Linked DNA regions of Homo sapiens: regions 1 and 2 are each linked to region 3. Evidence: promoter capture Hi-C in 16 types of primary human blood cells and fetal thymus (Javierre and others, 2016). All regions are on one chromosome and are shown on one strand. The core of a region is centred on a gene start or on the middle of the fragment in contact, and the rest is flanking DNA. Distances in the headings are between cores, read along the strand shown.

What was found. The method cuts DNA at HindIII sites, captures the fragments that hold promoters and counts their contacts. A CHiCAGO score of 5 or more calls a contact.
Region 1: a contact is called between a fragment that was not itself captured here and the fragment with the promoter of STARD13 in region 3, in 2 of 17 cell types (endothelial precursors and megakaryocytes). The highest score is 6.6, in endothelial precursors.
Region 2: a contact is called between a fragment that was not itself captured here and the fragment with the promoter of STARD13 in region 3, in 1 of 17 cell types (endothelial precursors). The highest score is 6.5, in endothelial precursors.

The regions. Positions count from the first base shown.
Region 1 is chr13:33,488,224-33,491,627 of GRCh38, forward strand. It overlaps a transcript of STARD13 not described here. Among named protein-coding and RNA genes, the nearest start is that of LINC02344, 150 kb to the left of the region's middle. RefSeq lists an enhancer at 1,261-1,837. The HindIII fragment of the contact is 3,241 bases long and covers 451-3,404 here.
Region 2 is chr13:33,509,754-33,513,601 of GRCh38, forward strand. It overlaps a transcript of STARD13 not described here. Among named protein-coding and RNA genes, the nearest start is that of LINC02344, 180 kb to the left of the region's middle. The HindIII fragment of the contact is 480 bases long and covers 2,149-2,628 here.
Region 3 is chr13:33,283,151-33,287,117 of GRCh38, forward strand. STARD13 (StAR related lipid transfer domain containing 13) reads right to left here and starts at 2,605. Exons shown (of 14, transcript NM_178006.4): 1 at 2,320-2,605. The coding sequence starts at 2,488. RefSeq lists enhancers at 2,708-2,767, 2,778-2,907. The HindIII fragment of the contact is 3,531 bases long and covers 1-3,429 here.

The sequences.
Region 1 (3,404 bases), core at 821-3,320, 200 kb after region 3:
CTCCATCTCCGCTAGCACGATTCCGGAGCTGCATCCAGAGGGCCACCTTAGAGGTCTACCATGCCTCAGCTCAAGAGTCCCCTCATCCAGGTGTGCTTCTCCTCGGTGCTTTATTTCTTAATTAATTGCACCTTCATCAACTCTACCCTTCCGATTTAGAAGCCTCAGTATTATCTTTGATTTGTATTTCTGTGTCAATCACAAATAAAATCAACAATCAAACCCAATTACTTCTGTCTACAACATCTTATTTCCAATATCTGGCTCTTTCCTCCTCAAAAATCTTCAATGGATCCCAATTGCCCCTCGAGAATAGAATGAAGATTTTTAAGAATGAGATCAAAATATTACTAGGCAATGATCTTCCTTTTGGGCATGAATACTCATTATCTTCATGAATTCTATGCTTTTTCTTCTACCAGACATTTCCTGATCATACAAACACTTTCAAGCTTTTGAATCTTGGCACATGAAATTGCCCTAAGCTGGAATATCCTTTCTTCTCTCCAACTACTGGAATCCTATCTATCTTTCAAGTTCAAATACCAACTTCTCTCTGTAGCCTTCTTTGATATTCACAGAATTCATCCCTCTTTATGCTGTGATCATATATGATTTTGTGTTAACACATTTAAAGCATTTAAGTCATGCTTATTAACACATTTTCTTTACCTGAATTTCAGACTCATATTTAATTCCCCAACAATCATCTCCACTGGGTTAACCCTCAAGTCCCTCAGATTCATTACACTCAAGTTGAACACACCCTGCTGACTGGACTTGGTCTTCCTGCAGTGTGCTTTCTGCTGGGAGTCACCCTTCATTCTTCCATCTCTTTCTAATTTCACACCCTGCCTAAATGATTCTAGCTTCTAAATATCTTTCTAAGGTATTCACATCTCTTCCCCCACTATTAATAAACTAGTTCATACCAGCATATTTTATTATTAGTTTTCTTCCTCTGGTCAATGATTAATCAATTGATTAGAATTGCTAATAAAAAAAGATCAACTCTCAGTTCAGGAAAATAAATATCAAGTTATATAATCTATATGTAGTCATATAGCCTTTATAGTTTTCTGCCTTCTCTTTTAACTTCCATAGGGCAACTCACTATAGTAAAGCCTTTTGTGTTATTAAGTTATCTCTTGGTAAACCAAGTTAAAAATTAATTTAGTGGTCCAGTATTCAGATATTTTTCTATTTAGTTATAATAAAAGCTAAGAAGCCATCATATTATTCTTCATTTTCTTTCTCTGACCAATGTCTAATACATGACTTAGAGAAATTAAATGTTACTTTTATGTGGGTCAAGTCCAATCAACTAATAAAAAACAGGATATAGACATCTGAAAACAATGTACCTATTAAAATTTCCTTTTATACTTTCTTTTCAAAGTGTTTAAATTAGAGTTTAATGGAAAGTATGAAGTAATTTACTTATCCAGCTTCTACGGCCAAAATGGAATGTGCTAATTTTATTAATCTGAACAATGGTGGCTTGCATTTGAAAAGCTCAAGAAACAGCGACGCACCATGGGGCTAATCACTTCAAGTTTTCTTTTCTTTATCTCTGCCCATTTTGCAAGTTCTCATTATTTGCATGAAGACTCTCAGAGAATTACCAGACCAGAAATGTAACCCATTGTATTCTTTCTTCTAAAAGGGGTAGAAATCATTTTTGAGATCATTTTCAAAATTGGAACATTGCTGAAAGGAAAAAAATCAAATGGATCGATAACCTTGAGCTTAAGGAAAAACTGTATGTTAAGCAAGCAATGGTTGTGACATAAAGTAATAATATTACTCATTAAGTAAATTTTTTTTAAACTTTCACATAAGTTTAAATAACCACTAACAGAATTTTATCTGATACAATTATAAATGGAATTAATGACAATAGTTTACAACCTGATTTCAAAAATTTGTTTTTTTATGTGTTTTAAGGAATTCCACATGCTTATTTTGCGCTGGGGAATTAATTTGAAATAGCAAATTGAAGGATGCTAGTAGGTATGTACTATACTGATATGGACAGGAGACAGGGAAATACTGGGTAGAAGAAGGCAGTTCCCCGGCAAAGGCCCCACCCTCAAGCCTGGATACTCATGGCCCTAAATGAGAACAAATATTCCTGTTTTCGCGCTCCTCTTTGGTCCGCCACATCCCCTATCCTGCACCCACATAAACCCCAAATCCCAAGCTCCAGAGCAGACCAGCAGGTGAGGACACAGGAGGCAAGCAGACCGACAGTGGAACAACGCGGCAGAGAGAAAGAAGAGTAGGGGCATCTGGATGCTGAGAGGAGTTTGGCTGGGGGTGGTGCAAGAGGAGTTTTGCCTCCGGCCGCTGGGTGGCCCAACTCCAGGGGAAGATACCTTCCCACTCCATCCCCCAGCCCCCGCCCTTCCAGCTTCCCATCCACCACACTGAAAGCCACCTCTACCACTCAATAAAACCTCACATTCATCCTTCCAGTCCGTGTGTGACCCAATTTTTCCGGGACACTGGACAAGAGCTCGGGATACAGGAAGCTGTCACACTGGCCCTCTGCCCTTGCGAAAAGGCAGAAGGTCCACTGAGCTGATTAACACTCAAGCCGTCTGCGGGTGGCCAAGCTGAAAGAGCTTTGTAACACTGAGGTTGCAGGCACCCACCATTAGACATTACCATGGGGCCAGAGCCCAAAGTGCTCGCCCTGGCCTCTGCACCTGCCCATCTGCATGCTCCTCCTCTCACAAGGGGTCTGAGCAGTGGGCAACCGAACAAGGGAGCCATACCCCTGTCTCATATCCTGTAAAGGGAGTCAGGGAAGTCTCCCGTTTCAATACTATGTGGCCATGTGACTTGCTTATGACATGCTAGAGAATGTGCCAGTGGTAGATGGGCAGGCTGTTTGTAATGAAAATTAAAATGCAAGTTCTGTGCTGAACTGAACTGTTGAAAGGATAACAGACCTTGGAAAAATGCCAGGTAGAAAACGGAAAACATTTCTCCATGGTATTTCTGGTACGTGGCACCACAGTAGACACTCAACAAATATTTTTGAATAAATGAATGTGAGGGCTGAGTTAGCTTAGGAGACATTAATATAAAATTGAAAACATTGATGATTTGATTGTCTAAGATCAGAGCAGTCCCTTAAGAAAAGAAATCCCAAATCATGTATTAGGAGAGAACGTGTTCTAATCTGGAAAATTTCAAGATTATTGTTTTGTTCATTTCTTTGTTTTTTTCTTTTTAAAATCCAATGAAAGGATTTAGCAAAAATTCCTAAGAGTCTATATGGTACATTTCATCAGTGATCTGTGAGACCTTGGGGGTTGAAAAGAAAGTACAAGAACTTAGCCTCACTCTGTTGTAGACTTTATAAAATACAATCAAGGATCTCTGTCTAAAACCAC
Region 2 (3,848 bases), core at 1,139-3,638, 230 kb after region 3:
CCAGTGAAATGCCAAGGCTCAGCAAACAGCCCAGAGAATGCCTAACTCGTAGGGCGAATTTTCAGTGCCCAAACCCACACCCACAGGAAGGAGGAACTAAAATGTTCTAGCTGTTAGAACAGGAACTTCCTGGTGTCCATCTGACGCATAGCTGTGCAGGACAATAGGAAAGGGAGTTCCTCCCAGAAAGCAGTGAAGGGCCAGCCAGATTCCTGAACAAAGAACTCCCTCCACTGCCAGGTCAGAGAGTCCTTGCTCTCTTTGCCCAGCAGCATGAGATCATTGTGATGGACTTGAGATCAATCTTCAGTGGTTGCCCTTCTCGCCTTTTCCAAATGGAAGTTTTATTGCAGTGATGGCATTTTCTCTCTACCAATGTGAAGTGGCAGTGCTAAATTTATCTTTTAGCCAGAGGTTGCCAAGCCACGATGAGCTACATTTAGACCCAACCAAAAAAATGTCATAACTTAGAGATTCTGGAATTGAAGTTGAAAGCAGTAACTGGATGAGCCTAAGCATAGTCTCCCTTTAGAGTGAAGGTAGGGAATTTTTTCTGGTAGAGGTATATTTGCAAGGGCCACTTTGAGAATTTTATAAATAGAAAGAAGGCTCATATGGATACTGGGCAGCCAAGGGATGGAAAGATAATGAGAGACATAGTTAACCTGTGCTTTGTTCAGCTCTTTAGGAGCTTTTTCCCATTCTGAGTCCAAGTTCTTTAGGTGGGGCTCTAGAACTCCTGGCTCTAGGGCTGCTATCATGGAAACCTGGCCAATAAAGTACTGGATTTCTTCATTCATGGTGATTACATCCAGGGATGATCACATGACCAAAGCCAGGACAATAAAAGCTCTCCCTGGGTCTTCTGTTGGAGCTATTGAAAAATTGACTTTTTATTTTTATTTTTACTAGAAATTCCAGCTGCCAGTACAACATAAACTAGGAACTGCTGCTGGTCATTTTTGCCACATTGTGGGGAGAGCCTGCCCAATAATGCAGCCAACTTCAAGTTTAGTAAGCAGAGAAAATTATTTTGAACTTCTAAATCTAGTCATATCTAAAGCTGGACTGATAAGCCCTGGTTTTCCAAATTATTTGAGTCAATAAATACATTTTTGTGTACTGAGTTCACAAGCCAAATAATTGAAATTGAGTTCACAAGCCAAATAATCCTAACAGCTAATTAAAATAATTTCTATTTCATTTAAATTCTTTCAAAGAGAAATAATTGAGCTGACACCTAAATTTTTTTTTTCTGTTTAAAAGCTGATGTTGGCCAGATGCAGTGGCTCATGCCTGTAATCCCAGCACTTTGGGAGGCTGAGGTGGGCGGATGACTTGACTAGCCAAGAGTTGGAGGCTAGCCTGGCCAACATGGCAAAACTCCTTCTCTACTCAAAATACAAAAAATTAGCCAGGTATGGTGGAGTGTGCCTGTAATCCCAGCTACTCGGGAGGCTGAGGCAGGAGAATTGCTTGAACCTGGGGGGTGGAGGTTGCAGTGAGCCAAGATCACACCACTGTACTCCAGCCTGGACAACACAGCAAGACTCCATCTCAAAAAAAAAAAAGTTGCTGTATTTCTGCAGTCCAAGATATATTTATTTATTTAACAAATGTAACATTTCAGTACAGGAATTGTTGATTTAAAAATCTGTAGGGAAAACAAAAAAATCACTGTAAACTGAGATGGCATTAAAAGGTAGCTAAGGTCACAAAGATCTGTATTAGAGGGTGATTCCCCTGGACAAAGTGATGATGAGAGCCAACCATTTACTATTTATTATTTGTATCCTACTTACGTTTAAAAATTTTTTGTGTCTCTTTGCAATAAAAGGTACTATGTAATGAAACCACTAAAGCAAATTAAAAACTAAAAGATCCAAATAATAAAATGAAGGAAGAGGAAGTTGTATTGCAAATCCTAGGCGGAGTCTCCCCACTAGAGTCAAGTACAAAACTGGTCGCTGAGCTTCTGAAAAGGCAAAGCAAAATGGATATCAAAAAGTTCCGTACCATGGTTATCTTAATTGAAGGAAATACTTCATTAGGAGAGATTACTTGCTTCTATCACTAAAGTTTAAAAATAACTAATTACCTAGCTCTTTATACACTAGCCCCATGTAATAAAATTGAGTCTTTAACAGAAGCTTCATAAAAGATGCAGAAATGCTCTTTTCACAGCTCTTATAGAAAAAAAATTGGCCATTAATTAAAGCTCAGAGGCACTTGTTTAATTGTAAATCCATGAAGACAATTTGGATGGAGACTTTGAAATAAGGAAGGAGACACAGGCTGTTTTTAGTAATGTGGCTTGGTATTTGAGCAGATTTTGGAGAATGTATTCCAGAAGAAAGTGTGGTGGGTGGCATGTCCCTTAAGACCACTCTTCCCAATTAACAGTTGACTCACAAAATCTTGTAAATAAAGGTTACACAGCAAGCCACTGGAAACTAAAGACTAAGATCAATCTTAGGAGATTAAGTGCCAAAAGAGGACTGCTGATTAAAGTGATATCTACATGCACTAAAAATCCTATTATATGTGAGCAAAATTTTACAATGCAAATCAGTCTTGCTTTTCTTACAAGATGAGGAGTAATAAATACTGTTAAAATGCATAACTAAAAGCTTTCAAGATTAAGAGTCTTAGAGAAGTGTTAGAGTCCTTAGAGCAAAGACAGGTGCTTTTTAAATTTACTATGTTTTTTCACTCTTTTTTTCTTTTTTTTGAGGCGAAGTTTTGCTCTTGTCGCTTAGGCTGGAGTGCAGTGGCGTGATTGCGGCTCACTGCAAACTCCACCTCTAGAGTTCAAGTGATTCTCCTGCCTCAGCCTCCCGAGTAGTTGGGTTTATAGGTGCCCGCCATCACGCCTGGCTAATTTTTTGAATTTTTAGTAGAGATGGGGTTTCGCCATGTTGGGCAGGCTGGTTTTGAACTCCTGACCTCAGGTGATCCACCTGCCTCGGACTCTCAAAGTACTGGGATTACAGGCATGAGCCACTGCGCTCGGCCGTTTTTTCACTCTAACCATAGCTTCATCCCAGGTTCTTGAAAGCTCAGATTGCCAGCAAACCACTAGAAGATACCAGAGAGTCCTGGAACAGATTCTCCCTCCCAGTCCTCAGAAGAAACCAACCCTGTGCATATCTTGATCTCAGGCTTCTAGTTCCAGAACTGTAAGACAGTAAATTTCTACTGGTTAAGCCACCCAATGTGTGGTACTTTGTTATGGCAACCCTAGTAAAATAATAACAACAGCCACATTCACTTGTTTATATATTGTCTACAGCTGCTCTCATGCAACAACAGCAGAGTTGAGTGGTTGGAACCAAAACCACATGGCCTCAAAGCCTAAAATATTTACTATCTGGCCCTTTACAGAAAATGTGCTGACTGTTGACTTATCTGATGAGTGAGATAGGGTAAAGGGTCACCAGGCATATGAGGTTTATTCTCCTTGTCTTTCTCCTTTGAGAACTGTTTGATGATCCTTGCTCAGCCCCTCTCTCTTTCACACAGGCTGACTCACCTGGGATCACTGAGTTCTATTTGGGATAAGAGTAGAAGAAAATAAGAAGACACTTGGGGTCTGAGGCGTGGTCTCCAATTTAGCTTTATCAGCAATAAAGTGTTTATTTTCTCTCTTCCTGATAGCTATACATATTTCTCAATTGATTTCAAATCTGGGAGGAGAGACATACGTGATTCACTGACTTCCATGAACCTCAACTTCTTCCTCCTCATAGTATGAAGGTGTTGGAAATCTTATTTCCCTCTTGAAGTTTTCCCAAAAAGGAAGTGAGTGCTGACTTGTTTTTAACCTGGCCATATCCTCTCTGAAGATG
Region 3 (3,967 bases), core at 1,355-3,854:
ACAGGAAATTTCATAATGAGTGACCAATTCTGGTCCTATAATATAGTGTATTGCTGTATCCTGAGTAGAAAAGTCTAAAAAGTCTCTAGTATATTATATAATCTGAAACTCAATCATAGGTTCAGTACTTTAGCACTCATTATAAAAACTAAAAAATAGTCTAGTGTATTGCAGAGCATGGACTGTCAAGCTGTATTCAAGTATCAGTTCCTACTGGGTGACCTTGGATAAGATGCTTGAAATCTGTGTGCCTCTGTTTTCTCATCTGTAAAATGGGCATAATAAAAAAAATTAACTACAATGATTTTGGTATGCTGTAACTGTTTAATCCACATTCTCTGAAATTACAGTAAACCAATCTTCTAATACAATAAACTCAATAAAATTGTTTCACATTGCTTTCTCATTGTCTTACTAAAGAGTTGTATGATGTTAACACATAATGATTTCTGAATCACAAGACTGTTGGAAATCTTTATTGCTTCCCTGTGATCTTAACTGTCAGTTTTAAGTGTTAGGCATTCATTGACTTCAAACACTCCATTGCCCAGTATAAAAAAGAGGGAATTCTCAAATTACCTAATTAGACAAAAATGAAACATAAACTGAGGGTGCCCATATGTCTGTGTGACAGGGCACGTTCAGTGATAGTGCATGTGTTCACAACTTCAAATCTTGAATGGAAAAATAACCCTCATTCCAAAAAGAACATAAATAATATTTAAATAAAATAAATTATTGTAAATACATCTAAGGAGGTCTGCAAAGCAATTTCAGCTAGTTCTCTGCAATATTTCTCATATGATATGCATGCTGAGGAACATTTATATCTTGTAGATGATAGCGCATCATTAAGCCTCGGTGTTCATAAAGATGATGGCATTTGGAAAGGCACCATTGTCAGAAATTTCTAAAACCAAAGTGGAGCTGGTTTTTATTCTAAGCCTAAAGTATTTTTAAATCTAGCCACAGGGAAATAATTACTTTTGTTTCTATTCAATCAAGACCTGGACACAGAGTTTATGCAATGACATAATATCCTTCCTGAAATCAGACCAGCATGTAGGAAGGACCAGCATCCTTCACACATAACTAGTTCCTGAACCTTTACAAACAAATCCTAATTTCCAAGGAAACAATCTCATCAAATGCTGCCCGCTAGAATACATATTGTTCTTTCTGGAAACATTACAATAAGATTTTCATGATTACAAACCCCAACTTCCTCTTTAATATTCAATATAATCTTAAACTCATTTATTTAAGTGGAAACTGTATTTTTATAATGGCTCTAAAAATTCCTGGTTAACTTATTTAGCACCAATATAATAATTTCTTTTTTTGTTGTGTAGGAGGAGGGTGATCATTAACTGACTGTCAACGTGTGTTAGGGGCTTCTTAGGAACGGCTCTAAAAATTCCTGGTTAACTTATTTAGCACCAATATAATAATTTCTTTTTTGTAGTCTAGGAGGAGGGTGATCATTAACTGACTGTAAACGTGTGTGTTAGGGGCTTCTTAGGAATGTTCGTCTTTCTGCTTTCTACTGATATACCCTATAAGGAGCATGTTTTAAATTTTTTTTTTTTTTGAGACTGGTAAATTTTAGTAATGTCCAGACTTCCAGGCTGGTATTTTGAGGGGCTGGGAATAAAAAGAATATCAAGCAGCTTATAATCAATATTCTCTTCTCTTTGCATTAGGAAGCTGGAGTTTTGTGTGCAGGTTACGGGATTTGTTTTGAGATGAACGAACACCTTAATTCTCTACCAGGAAAACAATATTAACACATCTGTGGCAACTGCTGACATAAACATACAAACAGGAAGAGAATGCGATTCTAGTGCTTAGCCTGGTGGCCTTTAGAACAGAATTCTTGCTTTCCTCCTCTTCACTAAGGATATTCGAAATACTCTGGGCAGGGTGGACATTAGTCCCTCGCCTCCTCCCTAATGAAATAAACAAGTGTCCACATTTTAAATGTGACGGAGTGTGAGGAAACTGCAGAAAAGCTCCTAAGATACACACTGAGTAACAGTTCTCATCTGTTCTGTAGACACACGTCAGTTTGGGAATTTATGATTCACTGTCCCACCGTGAAGTTTTTTGTGCACTTTATGTTGAGCTATGTGGCAGCTAAGGACTGTCCTGTTTGCTGAAAACTGCAGCCTAAAGTTATTTTTCAAAGTTACGGGTAGTGTGGCATAGAAATCCATATGTTATAAAGTGGAAACAAACAAACAAAAAAAACTGGGTTAGCATGAAATAGAGCCAACAGAAATCAGAATGAGCAACAGCCTTCCACTGCCGGCCACTCACCTTGTTGAATTTTAGTCACTAGCTGATGGCGTGCTAGAATCCGGCTCATCCTGTAAGGAGAGCGTCTTGTAGTCTGATCAAATCGCAAGTACATCTCCTGGCCCTCAGGTGTCATGGAATTTAGGTAGTAGCAGCCTGAGGCTGGGGTCCTGGGCACCTGACTGAACATCTCGGCAGATTTCCTATTGCCACCTCAGTCTGCCTGTGGCTGTTGCCGTCTGTCTCCAGTCTCAGTCAAAGAGCAAGGCACCCAGCCCAGGACAGCTCAACAGACCCAGCGATTTTTAAAAAGAAAGAGGAGTGCCAAAGCCACAACTCAGAATTCCAACCCCCGGGGCCCTCACGTGACCTCGGGAACCAATGAGAGGAAGAGAGGAAAATGGGAACGTTTGCAGTCAGCCCTAAGCCCCGACCAGAGGCAGTTCCAGCCGCCAGGGTCCCTCACACAACGCTGAAAGCAAAATACACGTATTTGACGTGCCTCAGAGCTGACGAAGCACCCAAAAGCAGCCCTCACTAAAGGAGTCGAAAGAAAAAGAGAGAGGGAAGGGCAAAACAAGTAGAAGACAAACAAGTCCAGGGCTCAGGAAACTTTTCAGCCTGTCAAAGTTAGAGAAAGCTCCTTCGCTTTCTACAGGGCAGCAGCAGCCAGGTAAAAGATGGACCTGATAAATCTCTTAAATTTAAAAAACACAACACAACAAAAAAAAACTACTTCAAACAAGCATCAACAGCTGAGCGTAAGCCACCACCTTCATTATCAAGAAACAACTCAAATAAAAACTTTTCCAGTGAAAAATAAACTTCAAGGGCTTTAACACCAGGAGTGAATACACCACAGATCCTGACCCTCACGTGATGGGAATTGGAGGGCTCTTACAGATAAGACTCAGAGAGGCAAAGTACACACGCGTTACGTATTAAGCATCCTTTCCTCTTTGATTTCTCTACTTCCCCAATTTTTAATCACCTAGAGGTAAAATACTTAGAAGGTGCCTATCACATTTAAGACACTGAATCATTTAAGACAAGAATCACTGCAGAAGTTGCAAAGGTACTTCAAAGATACTGTCATCAACCTGCTAAGGACCCATTGAGAAGTTATACAAAAGCTTCTAACATGAGGCCATATATATGTCTCAAAAAGGACGCAAACACAATGCTAGGTGAGCAATATTATTTTTGACTGGGGTGATGATTGCAAGCCAGATAGAGAAAGAGACATTTGGATAGGCTTTTTAAAATGGGGGGAATTCTGATAGGCAGAGGCTGGGGAGGGCTTTGCAAGAGACTGTAGGTACCCATGTGTGCAGATCCAGAACCAGAGTATATGGTTTAAGCAAACTGCTAGTAATTCAGTTTGGCCATATCTGAGTGTGTGTGTATATATATACGTGTATATATATATGTGTGTATATATATGTGTATATATGTGTGTATATATATACATACACACACTGAGTGACATATATGTATATGTCATTATAATTTTCCCTGTTTTTCTTCTTTAACATTGTTTGATGTGAAGAGAAAAAGTCCACAGAAAACATGTTATCAAATTCTGAGCCTGGGGCTGAAAGAATAAAGTTCTTTGATACAAAAAGTATATGACCAAGTTGCTTCTACATTTGGCTGACGGAAACATAGC